3 separate regions of the Homo sapiens genome follow, and all the other regions are linked to region 2. The links are contacts of gene promoters, found by promoter capture Hi-C in blood cells and fetal thymus (Javierre and others, 2016). All regions are on one chromosome and are shown on one strand. The core of a region is centred on a gene start or on the middle of the fragment in contact, and the rest is flanking DNA. Distances in the headings are between cores, read along the strand shown.

What was found. Contacts are between HindIII fragments. The CHiCAGO score rates a contact against its expected background, and 5 or more counts as called.
Region 1: a fragment that was not itself captured here is called in contact with the fragment with the promoter of MYSM1 in region 2 in 1 of 17 cell types (monocytes); the score reaches 5.0 in monocytes.
Region 3: a fragment that was not itself captured here is called in contact with the fragment with the promoter of MYSM1 in region 2 in 2 of 17 cell types (naive CD8 T cells and naive B cells); the score reaches 5.5 in naive CD8 T cells.

What each region holds. Positions count from the first base shown.
Region 1 is chr1:59,405,496-59,408,195 of GRCh38, reverse strand. All of the region lies in intron 5 of FGGY (FGGY carbohydrate kinase domain containing), which reads right to left. Among named protein-coding and RNA genes, the nearest start is that of FGGY, 110 kb to the right of the region's middle. The HindIII fragment of the contact is 734 bases long and covers 959-1,692 here.
Region 2 is chr1:58,698,703-58,701,402 of GRCh38, reverse strand. MYSM1 (Myb like, SWIRM and MPN domains 1) reads left to right here and starts at 1,341. Exons shown (of 20, transcript NM_001085487.3): 1 at 1,341-1,418. The coding sequence starts at 1,351. RefSeq lists enhancers at 1,167-1,576, 1,787-1,846. The HindIII fragment of the contact is 3,791 bases long and covers 1-2,596 here.
Region 3 is chr1:59,321,540-59,324,239 of GRCh38, reverse strand. It overlaps FGGY (FGGY carbohydrate kinase domain containing), which reads right to left. Exons shown (of 16, transcript NM_018291.5): 2 at 2,490-2,700. The coding sequence starts at 2,690. Among named protein-coding and RNA genes, the nearest start is that of FGGY, 26 kb to the right of the region's middle. The HindIII fragment of the contact is 4,306 bases long and covers 1-2,700 here.

The sequences.
Region 1 (2,700 bases), core at 76-2,575, 710 kb before region 2:
CACAACAAACATAAATGGTATCAGGTTCTCAAGCCAACACAGCTTGCAGGTGGCAAAGCCCAATGCACTTGCCCCAGAATTCGAGTTTTTCTCCATCATGACACCACATGGCCTCCCAATGAAATGCTGAGAGTCAAGGCAATCTTTTCTAGTATTACTTATGAGAACAAAGAAATATTCCGTATTCCTGGGAAAACAAAATACCACAGCAAAGTAAAGAGTACCTTTCCTGTGATTTCCACTTTAGCAGAAAGCAGATGAGAAACCTTTTGGTCCAAGAGTTAAAACAAGATGATGAACAATTTACATGTAGTAGGCAATAAATATTTAATGCCACTTGGTACAGCGGTTCTTCAAAAATGTCTTCCAGCTCTGAAGGCCTTTCTGTTAATCCACACTTCAGGGGGTGCAGCCATGGCTTGAGGAAAATACATTTTTAATAAGGACTGTGCCAACACAGGGGGCTTAAAATGCTGTATAGCATTCCAGTTTTTAGAGCCCTCAGGGAATCTCACACTCTGGGGGAAAAGGGTCCTAATGTGAAGAAGTGAATGGAAAGAGGCCAGAAAAAATTATATCCTAGGGAAGGAGGCCCTGTTAGAGCCTGGTCAGGATAACTATCAGAATATTTTTTTTTCTCTCTCCCCGTGGATGAGCTAGTCAGGTTCAAGGGAATCATATTCCAGACAAATAAGCTCAGGACAAGAGGCACCGGCTGCTTTCCAAGCATTGATGGCATCTTAGCTGCTTAATCTGTGCCTGCAGAGCTGCAACATCACACACTCAGTGTGCAGGCCCTGGTGTCGAACCACCCCCTCCTCCCTTTTCTCAGGCGGTCTTGTAAAGTGTTGGATCTTTGCTACCATTCTCTCATTTTTTGTCTTGCCTTGGCTTTTAAATCTGATGCTCTACCCAGGGGACAGGGAAGAAACTCAGAGATCAGCATCAGCAGGAAGCTTCTTCCACCCATCAGCTAAAAGGACAAAGGAAGAAGGCAGGGCTAAAGCTCGAGACCCAGGACCAACCAGCCGATGACAGAGCCATGGAGGACCCAACCTGCAGGTGGGATAGCTGTAGAGGGGCCACTGCCAGAGATGCTGCCCAAGGCAGACAGAGGGAGGGACAAATACTCCAGCTTCTCTTTCTCTTGCCTTGCCATCTCCCACTGATGACAAATTGTCAGGGGGCAGGGGTCAACCCCCTGTAACACAGCACCCTTGCAGAGCAGGGCAAGGGTGACAAATGGATCTCAGTGCAAACAGCCCAAAGGCCAACACAATTGATAAGTTAAAAGACAGGTTGCAGAATCGTGTATCATGTGATATCATAATTGCTAAATATATGCATATATAATTTAAGTAAATATATGCATATCATATACACACAGATTGAGGTAACAAGAGATGGAAAGATCAAGCAAGAGCAAGGAGAAAAGGAGAAAGATACATGGCTGACCTTATTATTTTTGGTAGTCTCCAAAAACATTAAATTAGGGAACACTGGACCATTGTTCCTAAGGGAAATACAGGGCTAGGTTCCTCTGAGCCTCCAGTTATATTTTTGCCAACTCATCAATACGCAACCCTGTTTCATGTGTATTCTTGCTTAAAAACAACTCATTTAATATATATTGTTGAGTCAATAACACTGAACTTACAGCCAACAGCACTTAACTCCTGCCTGAATGAAGCTTATCAAACACACGTTATTGTCTCTGTAAGGCACATCGCAGCTTTCTTGCACTGTACTTGAACACTACACAGTACTTTTGCACAATGCTTGGGGTGCATTTTAAATGGTGAAATCGCCAACAAAAAGCACAAAAATGAGAAAAACATGGCACGAGTAGACTTCGAAAAGGACACTTGTTTACACTATGAGAGCTGAAACAAGAAGGCAGGGTGTTGTGTTATTTGCCATCGGCTAGGAACACGCATGACGAGAGACTCAGAAATTATCCTCCTCTCTGAGCATTTCTGCGAATGACTGTGAAAGTGCCACAAGTATTGATTTGAGGGTTACAAATAAGATTTAGTAAGTAGGCAAATTTGCAAACAAAGAATCTGCAAATAATGAAGAATCAACTGTCTATTAACAGGCTTAAAAAAGCTTTTTAAAAAACATTTGTTCCTGGAAAATAGGAGATAGAATGCTTTTTGTTTCACTACATTTTTGTCTTCTTTTCTATCTTATTGTTCTCTAGTTTTTCTTCATTGAGCTTGCAATTAAGTGGGGAAGAGGACTCTAAATATCAGATTTCAAAAAGAAAAAAAAAAAAGCTAGGGGAAAAAGCACTAAGAAGTAGAATAATTTAGCCTAACGGGAGATCATCGTAACATAGCACCAGAGAGCAGAGCAGGTCATCCTCACTGTGTGACATGAGGAGCAGTCTCAAAGTGTTTCCCACACCAAATTTCTACCACTCCTCTAGCCAACCAACCAAGTGGGGCAAATGACTAAGGTCGACTGGGGGGTAGGCTAAAGGTGGGAGGTTCATACAAGTTACCTTCCTGAGTAGGTATCTAACATTCCATGGGACAGGTTAGCCTGGACTTATAGACTCACACCTTCCCCATCCATCTCTAAAAAAAAATCTTATTTTATGCTCATTCGATGTTTACTAGTGAGATGATGTAAGTTTTAGTTCAATTCAGTAAATACCACTAAGCCCCTACAATGCAGAAATTATTGTACAAGGTG
Region 2 (2,700 bases), core at 92-2,591:
CTCACTGCAACCTCTGCCTCCTGGGTTCAAGCGATTCTTGTGCCTCAGCCTCCTGAGTAGCTGGGACTACAGTTGCCCACCACTACGCCCAGCTAATTTTTGTATTTTTAGTAGAAACGGGGTTTCACCATGTTGGTCAGGCTGGTCTCGAACTCCTGACCTTGTGATCCGCCCTCCCTGGCCTCCCAAAGTGCTGGGATTACAGGTGTGAGCCACCGCATCTGGCTGTCAGTATCTAATTTCTTGAGAAACTATAAACTAGACAGAAGTGGTGTTTATCCTCCAATTTCTAACAACATGATTGTTACATGGTGAGCACTCAGTAGAGGGTCAACAAAGCCTGGATTCTACTCCTGGCTCTGTCTTTGAAGCTACCTGTCCTTGGACAGTCATTTCAGCTCTCCAGGCCTCAGTTACCTCACCTGTAAAGTATAACTGGTGATATTAGCTCTGCCTACCTCACTGGGACACTGTAAGGATTAATGGTCATGAGCGTGATTTTTAAATTGCAAAGACGTCTACAAAATAAATTACACAATCATAAGTTATATTCTTAAATATTTGTTGAATTTTAAAATAAAAGTTGTTCAGCACTTAGGTGAAATGCTGAACGACTTCACATAAGTGCTGCACGACCCTTTTCTTTAAAAAACAAAGAGAGAGACTTAAATAACCAGCAGGTATGCAACCTTCAGTTCACAAAGCGGGTCTAGCTTGACTTTTTCATCAGTCCAGAAAGATACTGCTGTTATCCCCATTTTATCAGTGAGAGCAGTGAGGTCCCAAAGAATGTGTGCAAGAACAGAAGCTCTTAGAAGCTCAGGAGGGCCCGGGCGCGGTGGCTCACGCCTGTAATCTCAGAGCTTTGGGAGGCCGAGGCGGGCGGATCACCTGAGGTCGGGAGGTCGGGAGTTCGAGACCAGCTGGGCAACATGGTGAAACCCTGTATCTACTAAAAATACAAAAATTAGCCGGGCGTGGTGGCGCATGCCTGTAATCCCAGCTACTTGGGAGGCTGAGGCAGGAGAATCGCTTGAACCCGGGAGGTGGAGGTTGCAGTGAGCTGAGATACGCGCCATTGCACCCAAGCCTGGGCAACAAGAGTGAAACTCCCTCTCAAAAAAAAAAAGCTCAGGCGTGGGCCACTTCCCAAGGTCTCTACATGTCAACAAGTTAGAAAGGACCAAGCCCCAGGCCTCTGGGGGCGCCTTTGCTCTGGAAACCCCGCCTCCCGGCACGGGAGGGGCCGGACGACGCTTCAATCCCGCCCCGTGACGCGTTAGGCCCTGCCCCCGGGCCATCTTCGTCTCGCGGGATCTCTCGGGAGGACGGACGGGGTCAGGTCCCATCATGGCGGCTGAAGAGGCGGATGTGGATATCGAAGGGGACGTGGTAGCGGCGGCGGGGGCACAGCCAGGGTGAGGCTTAGAGACCGGGTCTCTCTGGGGCGGAGAGGGGAGTGGATTGAAGGAGCGGGCCCTGGGAAAGCTGCAGGTCCGGCAAGGGAAAAGGGAACAGAAGACTGTCCCCTGGGCCAGGGTCTCTTGTTGGCCTGGGAGGCACCTCGCCCGCCGGCTTGTCCCAAGCCCAGCGGGCAGGGCGGTTACCTGGAGCTCAGGTACTCCTGGGTCGCTTTCACCTTTTGCCGGATGCTGTGAGGGCACCGATTTCGCCTACCACATTGCGTTTGATTTACATTTAGATTCCTTCTTCCGTTCCCTCCTTTTCAGGATCTCATCGACAGTAACTAGAACAAGAGCGGCTACGGACGAGACCTGAGGTCAGGGACTCTTGTTCTATGGCTTGCTAGCCGTGTGACCTTGGGCGAGTCGTTTCATCCCTTCTTCCACATGGGGATAGTTGTAAAACTTCCCGAGAAGCAGGTTGACTTAAATGGGCCAGGTTTTAGAGTTGGACAGTTCTGGGTTTTCCTTCTGCATTTGCTCGCCCTACCAGTTAATAGCAATGTGACCTTGGGCAAGACACTTAACTTGTCTGAGCCTCAGACTGCTCATATTTAAACTGGGAGTCATGATATGTAATTGGGAGGATCAAATGAAATGATTATGAGATATGCTTTAGCATACGGTAGGTGCCCTCTGAATGTATTCTTTACCATCCTGTTACCCTCGGGGACAGTACTGTGAGAATCCAGTAAGGGATCACATTTTTTAAAATACCTGTTCCAGCAGAACAAACAGCCCAGTGTGATTTGACACAGAACCTCCTTTGACTCCTTGCTTTCTGAATCAAAAATGAGTCTCCTTTTAGTCATGAAGAGTCCTAGACTAGCCAGGAATCAGAAAGCCTGAGTTCTAAAGTCAGCCAGCTATGTTGTTTATAATTATGTACAATTTCCTTAGAACTGTATTAGCTTGAACCATATGAAATTGCCAATATTTAGACCATTTTTGTTCTATAAAGCGGCAACTTCATGTAGTTCAGCCTAATATTAGGGCCTCTGTGAACAGGGGAGAAGTACTAACCCAGCGCTTGAGGCACTAAGATAGTGTGTTTAGAAGTGTATCATGAACTCTAAAGCCCTATAAAGACGTGAGGGGTGATTAAACTCATATGGTCATTGTCCCTCAAAGCTTTGCAGATGAGTAGGGAGCCCTTAATAACAATACTTGTTGACATTCATTTAGTGTTTAAATCTTGACCAAGTGCTTTTGCATGTTTGATTTAATTTACTTTTCG
Region 3 (2,700 bases), core at 78-2,577, 620 kb before region 2:
GATGGGTAAAAGCTCTTCAGTATAGTACCTGGACCAGTGTGCCCAAGAACTGTTAGCTGTCTTTGTCATCATCATTGACACCACATTATCCTTACTGTTGCTTTAACTAAGAGGAAAGTCATCTCAGGCAATGTGAATGACTTAGGGAAAAGGAATTAGAACAACTGCTCTGAAGCTCTCAACTTCCTGGAGTCCATGAGGAAGAAAAGACAGACCAGGACATATCTGATGCCACCCTTTGCCCTAGACCAGTGTTTCTCAAAGTGTTACACAGTAAGAACCCTAACCAGGAGAGTGAATGAATATTCCCAAGAAGCGCCTCCCCCGCCGTAGACTTTGACTTTTCAGTATTTTGTCTTAGAAATTCACTATCTTCTATAATCTGCTCATTTTCTGTCACCATCAGCACCACCATAGGAAACAACCCATACACATTTCTAGGCAATGTTATGACATCCTATGTGCATTAATTCATTTAATCCTCACAACAATCCTATGGAAGTAGGTACTAATGTCATTTCCATTTTACAGATAAGGAAACTGAAGCAAGAAACATTAGGTAACTTGTCCAAGATCACAACCTAATAAACGTTGTAAGTGGGATGTCAATCTAGGCAGTCTGGCTGCAGAATCTGTGCTCTATAACAGGTCACCTACCTCTCTCATTCCTATGGTGTTATTATCTCTCTAACATAAAAATGCTTCCCTCCCTAAGCCTCACACCAGCAATGATGTTCCATATAGATGTAACATGCTTATCCTGTGGCTTCTGGCACATGCCCACATATCCATACTCCATCTGAGGAGAATCGCCTAAGACCCAAGGGCTTCATTTAGGTTTGCTATAGTGCAATAGCATTGCTATCGACAGATGTCCATGGTACTTATGCAGCTAACAGGGCTCAAACAGATGATAAGTTGGCCACCACTGGGAGATGATTAAAAATCTACCATTAAACCAGCTGTACTTAGAGTAGACCTTTTTTAAAGTAGCTTTTCATCAGGGGATTATATTTTCTTCTTGATAATTTCCTTAACGGCAAGCAAGGCTGTATGTTAAAAGAAGAAAGAAGGCCCAAGTGCAAAGAGTAGAAGATTCTTACCAGATTGGGGGCTGAAAGGAGGGGAGAGGAGAGGAAAATTAAATGGGCAAAAGAGAAGATGCATCCCTCTTTTATTCCTGTATAATGCTCTGGTACTGCCTACCCACTCCCTCCTCTCTCTGCCTTCTTCTCCGGGGGCACTAACAGCAGCCCAGAATTCATTAAAGTTTAAACAGACTGATCAATAGGGACAGAATGGTGAATTGTCCATCTGCAAATTACCAAGCACCTCATGAATATTTAAGGAACTAAACTAGGAACAGGGAAAAGAAGGAATCCAGGACTTTATTTTTCCCCATGGAAAAAAAGACAAAAGGACCTCTGTCATTACTGATCACCAAGACATAAAATCAAACAGTCAAGTGAAACTTTAAAAACAAACAAGAATTGTGAAGCATTGCTTTCCTTCCCAAGCCAGCAGGCTGCATCCAATCCAAGGCCACTCAGGGTGAACATATGCCTGGCATATATGGGAGACACTCTAATCTGACTCCTTTGCTTTATCAGAACACACCATGTTTTCGTGCCACCATGCCTTTGCATATGCTATTCCCTCTGCCCAAAATGCAGTTCCTCTCATCCTCATTTGTCCACTTGGAAGGCAGCAGAGTCCAATGGTTAAGAGTGCACCTCGGAGGCAAAGGTATAGGAATGATACAATTGGACTTTGGGAACTCGGAGGAAAGCGCTGGGGGGTGGTGAGGAATAAAAGACTACACATTGGGTACAGTGTACACTGCTTGGGTGATGAGTGCACCAAAATCTCAGAAATCACCACTAAAGAACTTACGTAACCAAACACCACCTGTTCCCCAAAAACCCATTGAACTTTTTTTAATTAAAAAAAAAAAAAAAAAAGAGCGCACCTCTGGAGTCAGACTGCTTTGTTCTAGTCCTGCCTCTGCTACTTACTGTGTGAACTTGAGTAAGTTACCTAACTTTTCTGTGCCTACATTTCTCCCTCAATAAAATAGGGGTAGTGACAGTATTACCTTTATAGGGTCATGTGAAGATGCAACTACACAGTGCAAGTTAACACATTTTACACAGCCTTTGGCACACATTAAAGGCGTGGTAAATGTTAATAAGGTGATCAGTGAATTCTTCCACATGTGGTCACACCTCAAGCTGTCCTGTCTTCCCTGAGCCCCCTCCGGTTAGCTCTTTCCCCAGCTCCAGCTATAGTTACTTTGATCCCAGCTCTTACCATATATTAGCTGTTTATCAGTCTCTGCCAGTAGACTGTGAGCTCCTGAAGGGCAAGGCCTATGTCTTGCTTACCTCTGCATCTAAAGTTACCCCAACATTGTTTACGGCACCAGATTGACACACGACACTCAGCAGGTAGGAATATGAACAAGGAGAGAACACCAGTTTTGCCCATACCTTTGTGACAACACAGCACGCAGCCCAGATGTCCTCGGAGGACTGCTCATGGTGGTTGAACTGGGGCTCCCAATTCTTAATTGGCTGGTCTGCAAAAGCCAACAGGACCCCACTCTGGTCCACCAGAGCTGCACGGACACTGCCTGTTCCAACGTCCACACCCACATAGTACCTCTCTGGTTTCTGTTCTCCACCAGACATTGCAGTTCCT